2 separate regions of the Homo sapiens genome follow, and region 1 is linked to region 2. The links are contacts of gene promoters, found by promoter capture Hi-C in blood cells and fetal thymus (Javierre and others, 2016). All regions are on one chromosome and are shown on one strand. The core of a region is centred on a gene start or on the middle of the fragment in contact, and the rest is flanking DNA. Distances in the headings are between cores, read along the strand shown.

Region 1 (5,446 bases), core at 2,723-5,222, 260 kb before region 2:
TTGTAGTTTTCATTGTAAAACTCTTGTACTTATTTTTATGTCTTTTTAAATTTTTATGTTTTTCTAAATTTTCATGTGTTTGATGATATTATATTAGATTTTTTGCTGTAAATTTCCAATTGGGAGTTAGAAGCCAGACCAAAAAGAGTACATAGTGTATGATTCCATTTTTATGAAATTATAGGAAATGCAAATTAATTTATCTTAAAAAATAGCAAATCAGTGATTGCCTGTGTCAATTTTACCTCAATAAAACTGAAAAAAGGGGATAATTTTGTATTAGTACATTGATTTTTATATATTGATTTTATATTTTATAATCTTGCCACTTACTTTTAGTAAACGTGGTAAGTTGTTTAGAACTTTCTAAACTCACATAATCGATCTAACACTTTCTGTAGTTTCCTTATTATTTTCTATGCATGAGATAATGTCACTTGTAGCTTTAGTATTATTTATCCTAAAATGTTTGAGAATTCACCAGTACAGCCATTTCTGCCTGGAATTTTCTTTCTGGGAAAATTTAAATTATAGATTTAGTTTTTTTAATTGATAAATGAGTATCCAGATAGTATATTTATTTTTGTATCTGTTTTGTTATTTTTGTCTTCAATGAATTTACCCATCTTATCTAAGTTGTTGGATTTATTGCCATAAATTCTTTGTAATTTTAAAAATTTTATTATTAATATTTTAAAATATAAGCATGATCCCTAATGATGTTCCCTCTTTCATTTCAGATTTTGTTATTTTGTTTTTTCTCATTTTTTCATTATCAGAATAGCTATTGCTTTTCAATATTATGATTTCCCCCCAAAAATGATACTGTGTTCATTAATATTTTTAGAGTGTTTTTTTTCTATTATGTGAATTCTGCTCTTATTACTCCTTTCTATTTACATCACGTTTGCTTGCTTTTTTCTTCCCATATCTTAGAGTGGAAACTGAGATTGAGTGTCTATAAACTGTGGACCATGGGCCAAATCATTCTGCCACCAGCTTTGTACATAAAGTTATTGGAATACAGCCACACTCATTTGCTTATGTATTGCCTATCACTGCTGTCACATTACTGTGACTGAGTTAAATAGTTGGAACAGAGACGATATGGCCTAAAGCTTAAAATATTTACTGTCTTATCCTTTACAGATGTTTCCCAGCCCCTCTCTTGGATCTTTGATTTTAGAACTTTCTTGTTTAATGATATGGTATATGAGCATTTAAAGCCATAACTTTTCCTCCAAGCACAGTTTTACCTGTATTGTACAAATGTAGTATTTTTTATATTCAATTCAATATTTTTTTCTAATTTTCCCTATTTCTTCTTGGATTCATACACTTTACAGAGGTGCATTTTGACATTTATCTTCCTTCACTAAAAATACTGCCATGCAATCCATTCAAATTGTTGCATGAATTAATAGTATGTTCCTTTTTTATTTCTCAGTCATATTCTATGGTACGGATGACAGTTTGTTTAAACATACACCTACTAAAGGACATTTAAGTTTTTTTCCAGTTTGGGGCTATTAAAAATAAAGTTACAGTGGACATCTGTTTTTATGTGAACATACATTTTTGTTTCTCTGGGATAAGTACCCAAGAGTGAGATTACTTGCTCTATGGTAAGTATATGATTAGTTTTATAAGAAACTGCAAAACTGTCTTCTAGAGTGGCTTAACCACTTTATGTTTCCACTGGCAATGTGTGAGTGGTCCAGTTTCTCCTCATTGTTACCAGCATTTTTTTAAGCATTCTGATAGTATGTAGTGATATCTTACTGTGGTCTGAATTTGCATTTTCCTAATGGATAAATATGCAGAACATCTTTTCTTGTGTTTATTTTCCATCAATATGTCTCCTTCATGAATTGTCTGTTCATGTCTTTTGCCTATTTTTTAATTGGATCACTGTTTAACTTTTGAACTCTGAGAGTTTTTGTTATATTCAAATACAAGTCCTTTTTTAGAAATTTAGTTTGCAAATATTTTATCTTAGACGTGCTCCCTGTTTCATCCTTTTAATGGGTTTTTTAGCAGAGAAAAATTTAAATTTTTTTTAATCTGGCTTGTCAGATTTACCTTTTTATAGTTAAGCTTTTGGTGTCATGTCTAAGAGCTCTTCACCTACCTCTACTTTCCCAAAATTTATATTGTATTTTCTATAAAGTTTTGTGGTTTAAAAGTTGTTTTACTTTTAAGTCTGTGATCTATTTTGAGCTGATGTCTGTGTAAGGTGTGAGGTTTAGGTTGAGGTACACATTTTTGCCTATGAATGTTCATTTGTTCCAGCACCATTTGTTGAAAAGGCTATCCTTGCCCATGAGGCATGTTTTTAAGACCTTTTAAGGCAAATTTAGAGAGGCCTCTCTTCTTGGATTGCTTTTGCCACACTTAGAAAGGGTAGACTTGCTAGAATTTCTCCTGAATGCTCAGTGTATTTAATGAGATCTCTCCTTTCTGGCTGGAGGGAATACAGACTATTCCCAGCACTATGCACTCTCAGTGATGTTTGTGTTGCAGCTCCTTCATAATTATTCTTTTCAAAAAATTATTCTATTCTAGCCCTTGGAGCTTTCAGGCTTCACATAAGTAGATTGCTATTCAGCCTAAGACTCAGGTTTTGGGAAATTTTTTTCTTCATAGCTTCCTCCTCTCAGGGACTCTGTTCTGCAAATTCTATTCACCTTGGCCGTTTTGAACTACAGTCTCAGTCGTGTCAACTCAAAAACATTGCAGGACTCAGTATTTGCCATAATATAGGAAATACCTCCATAAAGGAAACATGGATGATGGGGGAGCTCACCTCATTGGTTTCCCTGTCCTTAGGGTTCATAGTCCTGTACTCCCTGTATTGCCTGAAAATAGTTGTTCCCTGTATTTGTCTAATATTTTTAACTGTTAGCATGGAAGGTAATTTTAGACCATCTTACTTTTTCAAGGCTACAAATGAATTTTATATTCTTATCATGTTGTCAATGATTTCTTTTATAAATTTTAATTCTTTTAATTGTTTCCCTTTCAGTATGTTGACAGAATATCCTGAAATGTTAACTCACTTATTATTCCTAATTATTTTTCTATAGATTGTTTCAAAATGTATATGTATATACATAATTCTGTCATCCACGAATAATGGGGGAGTTTTTTCTCCCATTAAAATCCTTGCACCTTTTAATTTCTTTTTCTGAACTTACAGTGCCACCCAGTACCTCTAATGCAATTTATTATAGTCATGGTTATAGCAGGCATTCTTTTTAAATTCTTCATCTCAGATGAAAAACATTGAACATTTATCATTAACTATGATGCTTCTTACCTATTAATTATATATAATTTTCAATAAATGTTATACATCTCTTATATTTGTAATTAACAAAAACTTGCTATCATGACGTATGTTGAAGTTTATCTTATGCTTTTTAAATATACACTAAGATGATCATGTGGTTTTTCTCCTTCTGTTAACATGGTATACTATATTGATTTAATTTTTAAATGCTAAAAGAATTCTCAATTTCTGTAAGAAATCCAATTTCATTGTAATGTGAAATAGATTTATCTCTTGAAAGCTTCTATAAGATTATTTTTTTATTTTTTCCCCTGAAATATTTAGTAAACTTCACAAGCAAAGACACCTAATCCTGGATCTCTTCTTTTAGGAAAGTTTCTTAATTAAAATTTCAATTTAATTAGTTACAGATCTCCCAAAATTTTCTATTTTTTTCTGGTGTCAGCTTTGTTAGGTTTTTGCTGGCATAAAGCTTTTCATAATATTATTGTGTTATTCTTTTAACATTCATATAATCTGTAGTAATGTCCCTTCTTTTTAATCTTGATATTCTTTATTTAAGCTAGCCAGCTTGTCTGCCTTCCTGCCTTCCTGCCTTGCCTTCCTTGCCTTCCTTGCCTTCCTTCCTTTTCTTGATAAGCTCTGGCAGTGATTAATCAGTTTTATTCATATTGCCAAAAAAATGTCTAGAGAGAAATAACAAGAAACGGTTAAGTTGAAAGTTGTACATTGTTTGTTTCCTTAGTGCAGTAGTTTTCTAACATCAGCATGCATCAGAATAACATAGAGGGCTTGTTAACATACAGATTGCTGGATACCTAATTCAGTAGGACTCCAGTAGGGCATGAGAATTTAGGGCACCTCTAACAAGTTTTTAGGTGTGTTAGTCAAGCTTATTTAGAGAAACAGATTAAATAGGATGTTTACATTCATATGAATATACATGCATATACACATGATTTATTATAAAAATTTGGCTCACATGATTATGGAAACTGAAAATTCCCAGTATCTGCAGTTAGTATGCTAAAGACCCAGGAGAACCAATGTGTAGTTCTAATCAAAGTACCAAGGTCGGAGAACCAAGAGAGCCAGTGATACAAGTTCCTATCCAAAAGCTGGCTGGCTCAAGACTGAAGAAGAGCCGATGTTTCCGTCTGAGTCCAAAGGCCAAGAAGAGACCAGTACTCCTAGCTCAAACATTCAGGCAGAAGGAGTTTGCTCAACTTTTTTGTTCTATTCATATCTTCAACTGACTAGATGAAGCCTTCTTCCATGAAGGAGGGCAGTCTACCTATTCAAATGTTAATCTTATCAATAGATACCCTCACAGTCATACCCAGAGTGCTGTTTAATCAAATATCTGGACACCCAGTAAAATTGACCCATAAAATTAACCACGATGCTAGATCATGCTGATGCTGCTGGTCCAGAATACACACTTTGAGAAACAGTGTGTAATTGATAATCCTCCACATCGCAGGAGTTATCCTTGATTTATCGAGGTCCTATTCCCAGACAATGCATGGCCCTTCCTTACTCTAGTTTAACTTAATTTACCCCAAATTTTGCAGACATACATGTACATATGTATGCATGTGTGCATGTTCATCTTAAATTCACACCCTGCAAGAAAGTATACTTATTTTATTGGTCAACATCTGTTTTGATTTAGCCAAATGACTATCATTTTTTGTTGCTCATCATTCTTTTCTGAATGTCTGACCTCCACCTAGTATCATATTTCTTCTTCTGAAAGAACGCTTCTTAGTATTTGATTTAGTGCAGGTTTGCCTGTCATGAATTTTTAGTTCCTATTTCTCTAAACATCTTGGAAATCCACCTCGATGTTTGAAAGGATATTTTGAACCAATAGAATTCTAGGTTGGCAATTATTTTCTTATAGTGCTTTGAAAATATCATTTTATTGTCTTTTGGCTTTTTTCATTCTGTGTTTTATTTATTTATTTTATAGGTTAATTCCTAGTCATATTGTTTCTGTTCTCCACTCCAACCCACCTGATGTCTGTTTTAAAGGTGTTCTGTATTTTGGGAGTTGATAAGTTTTACTATGATGTTTTCAGGCGCTGTGGATTTTCTTTGTATTTATCCTGCTTAAGATTTGTAGAGTTTTTCAAATCTGAAGTTTTATCA
Region 2 (5,312 bases), core at 465-2,964:
GGAATATTAGGAATTGAACAGAAGTTTACACTTAATAAGGACTTTGAGAAGGGTAATAATTTCGGCTCTTGATTAAATCATCCTCTAAAGTTTTTCCAAACTTTTCGGGTTGGTCAGGATCTCTCTTGCCAGTCGCCACGTTTGTTTGGCAGCGTTTTCCAGAGCTGAGTGAGGTTTGCCTTGAAACAGATCTAAGTTCGGTAGAAAGTAGTGGGGACACCGCCGGCACTGCAGGCAGGAGATAAGTTGCAGCAAAATCCCGTTCAGCCGATCACCCAGGCAAGACTCGTCCCAGTCCGACTCTCGGGGATGCTTTTCACACTCGTAGGAAACCAGAGTCTTCATATGGTAATTGTTCAAGGGCTGGCCCGGCAGTTCAAGGTGACGATCCCTTAAGGTTTTGAGGATGGAGAGGCACTTCTTTCTGCAGCCCCCCATCTGCAGTCTGTTCTCTGCCTCCGCGAACTGCAGCACCCAGGCGTCGCTCTCCGCCGAGCTCTGCTTGCCGGCCAAGGAGTGGCACTCCTTGGACAAGAGATTGAAACCTTCCGCCTTGACCTCCGCCACCCGGTTGGGTCCCGGCCAGGGGATGTGGGGAAGTGGCCAGTGGGCAGCACTCCTCGGCCAGATCCCGGTGCATTTAAAGGCCGGCGTGATCTGCACCACGTACCTATCTCGGATTCTCAGTTTCACTTCGCTGGTGTCTGCCACCATCTTTACCACATCCCGGTAGCTACATTTGTCTACCGCTTGAGCCACCAGCGTCTGAAACCTGGACCGGATTTTGCGCGCCGAGAGGTAGCCGGAGGCGGTAATGAATTCCACCCAGAGGGACATGCTCCTCTTGCGCCCGTCGCTCAACTTCAGCACCGCGCAGCCGGGCAGTGAGCCATCGTCCACGAAGTTGAACACCCCCATTTGGTTGAGATAAAGCACCACTTCAAATTCGGTGGGGGAGATGACCTCGAGGCCCTCGTAGCGATTGTCCATCTCGTTGAGAGAGCTGATGAACCGCGGCTCCTGCACTTCCACTTCCTTCAGTACGTCGGAAACTACTTTGCAGACTTCCCGGATAGTTTTGGCAATGGCAGCTTTCCTGGCTTGGCATTTTTCGTTGTAGTATTTATTCAGATGGTAGACCAGCTTGGCCTGGGCCGCAATCATGTTGGGGCAGAGATCCGGATTGTACACCGGAGTCTCGCAGTAAGCTGTGGGATCCAATGCGGCTGCTAGAGCTGGAGCCAACTTCGGTGGAGAAACGGGCCGCAACACTCAGAAATGGATCAAAAATGCCTTTCGGAAGTGCTGCAGCGTTGGTTTCCCTGCTGCTGCTGCTGCTGCTGCTGCTGCTGCTGCTGCTGCTGCTGCTGCTGCTGCTGCTTTTCCCTTCCTTTTATCTTTGAGCCCAGCCGTTCTTAAAGTGAAAGACTGTCCTCCCCCCTCTGCTTGTCTCTCTTCCTCTTTTAAAGAATCCTTGTGTGAGAGAACCGCATGGAGAGATCACCTTCTCAGGAATAAAAAACAAAAGTTGCGCTGAGACCCAGCAAAGCTCTTCCAGTAGTCAAAATAAGCACCCCTTTCCGTATTTATTTGCGCTTTCCCGTAATCATTGTGTGTGCAGCACTGTTAATCAAATGGAGGAAAAGTGTGCTGAGTGTGTGTCCGGGGTGAGTGTGCGTGTGTATATGTCAGAAGAAGCTGCTGTTGGTTTGTCTAAGAGCCCAGATGCACTCGTGTGGAAATTATAAAGGCAGGGCCAGGCAGGCGGGCGGCCAATCGCCACTGGGCTCGTCACGACAGCCTCCTTCAGCTCCAACCCGGCTAATTAATCCCCACTCATGGATATAGGCACACAAACTAAAGGTAGGAGGCTGCTGCCGGCGGAAAACCACTCAGGCCACCTAGACAGTTTGGAAATCAAGAGGAATCTCTCAGCTTTGGTATTACTTGAAGCATATTGACGTTTTGAAAAGACTTGGCAAAGCGGCTCTCTTCTGTGCCGAAAACCTGCTTGTCTTTTACCGCTGAAATGCAAATACAGGTGTATTAATGGGCATCCATCAATTAGTGATCTTGACGGGGTTTTCTAAAACAAAATCACTAACTTGCATTTAGAGTAAGATAATTAACGTCTGTTAATCCTTGGGGTCTTCTTAAATGCAGGTTGAAAGTTTGTTCTTTCATGCAGACTACTGGCATATGGAAGTTGGCTTTAGATGGAGGAGTACCTGTGTAATTTTCTCATTCTGGATGTTCCTATATGTTAAAATGATTTTTTGAAACGTTATGGAGGTAGTATGCTCTTTTTTTACTTATGTTTTTTTCTTTTCTCCATTTGTTGAATCTGAAAATTATTGCTGAGTGTGTGAGATGTTCTACCCCTGTTTAAGTTAGGATATTTAAAAAATATTTCGTACATCCCTCTGCCCCAGCAGATGCAGTCTTTGCACTTTGGTGGACTTGCCCAGCATTACAAGCAGGACACAACGCTATATATGCACTTATAGAAACATTTGAAAAATAAATTGTCTGTGGGATGGACAGAGTACTTTAGCGTTATTTCATAGTGACCTGTATTTTAGTACATAAAATTCAGGTGAGATCATAGAGATCAAGCTTCCTCACAGATAACTATCCCGAAAAATTGAAGGTTTGGGGTATCTGGCTTGTTTACAGATGTATAATTAAGGATATATCTCCTGTCTTAAGTGTCCTTAAGTGGTGACCTGGCAGTAGACTTCTAATTTTATACTATTTCGTGTGATTTAATTAAGGGAAAATGGTTAACATTTGCAAAGAAAATTAACTTGCAGTTATCTGGGGGGTTTTTTGGATTTAAACATCATTTTGAAAACAAAAATGAAATAAATCATTTCATTTCTGAATTTTGGAACCTGGAAACAGGAGGAGGAATTTTTTTTTCTAGTTGGTGGTCCAGTTGTGTCCTCAAAGTACAGGAAACTAAAGAAATACTACTTAGTGGTTACGTTGTGGTTTTTAAAACTAGGTGGATTTTTTTAATTGTCTACCTTTAATTTAGATGCCACGTCTTTCCAATTAAGAATATTTCCCGTCAAATCCTATAACTCCCGGTAACATGTTTGTAGACACTTTCAGAGTCACTTTTAACAAGATATTCTTCAGGGCTCCCACTTGCTACTTAAGCTTTTGATTTTTGTTTGTGTGTTTTGTTTTGCACAGGCACAGCATCACAAAACCACCTATTATTTAATTTCTCCTTATCCAACAGTGATAGATTCCAATTTAGCTGAAAATAGTATACATTGGGGTGCGTGGCACCCAGCTACTCTATTTCCCAAGAACCTTCCATCCCCTTAAGAGCAGGGTCTGGGAACACCCAAAAAACCCCTCCCCACTTTGCCGTCATCGCGGGTGAATGCACCACTACCTTTTGGCAGTTGGAGGGGAGACCCATCAGAGCCGGAGAACCTGCAGCCACGACGGCGAGGATGTGCAGTGGTCTCTGGGGAAACGCCGCCTTCTGCCCTCACCCGGCGCGTGTGGCCCTGTGCCGTCCGCTCGCCGCCTCTCTCTCGCTGCTCCGCATTCCCGTGCCCTCTTACTTTCCTCTCTGGGCTCAAGATCGCTACGCTTTATTTCTGCGTGAGCTTATTTGAAAACCTTACTTGGTGTCCCGGCTTACTCTCCACGTCTGCTCCAGACCACGGTCTGCCCACGCACCCCTCAGCCTGCACCGCCCACGTCCGGCCCAGGTGTGGTCGCAGCCAAGCCCCAGCCGCGGGCCCCTGCGCCCTGCGCTCTCTCCCTTGGGTTCAGGCCAGAGATGCTTGCCCCAAGACCTCGCCCCTTGCCTTCTTGGGCCACCTGCAGAACACCCTTGGTTGTCAAGGACGTGAGACAGCCGAGGACGGGGAGGCCCCAGGGCTGTTCGGGGGACCTTAAGTGGGTCCAACGGGAAGGACGCGGGCCTGCGAGGGATGCCGGTCGGGCCTGGCTGGAGCCAGGCGCGCAGGTGGCGCATCTTCGGGGCTCACTGTGCAGCTTAATTGGGTTAAAGCGAAGCTAAACACCGAAGCACTTTGTGCAAACTAATTGGTGCAACCAGCGCCTTTTCACTAACGATTTGCACTTTGAGAAAGAAAAATGGATGGTGAGAAAAGGTATACTAGGAAACTCATTAGATCTAGAGTGTTCAGGAAAGTGAAGTCATTTAGTTTAAAGGACGCCAGGACTGTGTTTTCTAAGCTGCTTCCTTAAGCACCCCTCACACAAGGAGCTGAAGGTGATTTACATAACATAGGATTCACCGGTCCGCGATTATCACTGTGGGTGAACTGGGCGCCCTGGAATGAATAATACTCTAGTGCAAGTACTGCTTGTTGCTGCAACACAGTGATTTTCTATTACACTGAACACGTGAAATGAATTGCCTTCTGTAGCTGAATCCTTTCAGTGATCGTAGACGCCCCTCATTGTTGAAGCGAGAATTAAGCTATTCGGAGAAGCGTGTTTTCCATCCCCGAAATTTTTTTATGGAAATGACCTATAGAGAGGGATTGCAAATAACAGTACATTTTTGTGCAGTTCAGCCGATTTTAATCTAGGCTTGGGGGATATATTTATTTTATGGGAGTAATATATTTAACTATTTTTCAGTGAATTTTAAAAAAATATCATTTGACCTATTAAACTAGTTATGTCAAATGATTATGTAGTACATAGAGATGGCTTAATATACATTTATGTATTAATGTGAAAAGTTTTTTTAAAAAACTCCAGTTATACCAGTCTTGCAATATTTTTTGTTGTAAATATACTCAGTGCTACTAGAATAAAATTGTGTGTGTGTCATGCTTTAGGATGTAAATACTTAATTGTTTTCAGTGGTAGGCATGCAGACATCTTTGACATGAGCTAATAATAGAATGATAATTGAGGAAAACTGGCCTAATTGAAGGAAAAAAATCTCAAGAATCTCATGATTTAATGATAGTTTGAAATGCTTATATTGAATGGTATTTAGAATTTTAATGCCTAACTGACTTTTACATTGCATTTACTTAGTTTATGAGGCAGGCTCGATTTAAAATGTACCAGTTAGGAAAAAAAAAAAAAAAAGCAATAAGGACATAGCACACCATTATCATAAATGTTAGTAGTATTAGTGAATATAAAATAATTAAATATTGTGATCCTTAACACTTCGAAGCGTTCGAAATAACAGTGGCAAAACAACTTTGCCTCAAGTAGTATTTCCTAAATAACTTGTCTCCACTTCTGCAGACCTGCTTACTTATATGGGATATACAAAGTAATTCATAAATAGTGTC

What was found. The method cuts DNA at HindIII sites, captures the fragments that hold promoters and counts their contacts. A CHiCAGO score of 5 or more calls a contact.
Region 1: a fragment that was not itself captured here is called in contact with the fragment with the promoter of MAB21L1 in region 2 in 1 of 17 cell types (megakaryocytes); the score reaches 6.1 in megakaryocytes.

What each region holds. Positions count from the first base shown.
Region 1 is chr13:35,215,314-35,220,759 of GRCh38, forward strand. The region is part of intron 33 of NBEA (neurobeachin); the gene reads left to right. Among named protein-coding and RNA genes, the nearest start is that of MAB21L1, 260 kb to the right of the region's middle. The HindIII fragment of the contact is 420 bases long and covers 3,763-4,182 here.
Region 2 is chr13:35,474,975-35,480,286 of GRCh38, forward strand. MAB21L1 (mab-21 like 1) reads right to left here and starts at 1,715. Exons shown (of 1, transcript NM_005584.5): 1 at 1-1,715. The coding sequence starts at 1,164. The coding sequence ends at 85. The region is part of intron 41 of NBEA (neurobeachin); the gene reads left to right. RefSeq lists enhancers at 291-1,287, 3,801-4,597. The HindIII fragment of the contact is 3,631 bases long and covers 1-2,614 here.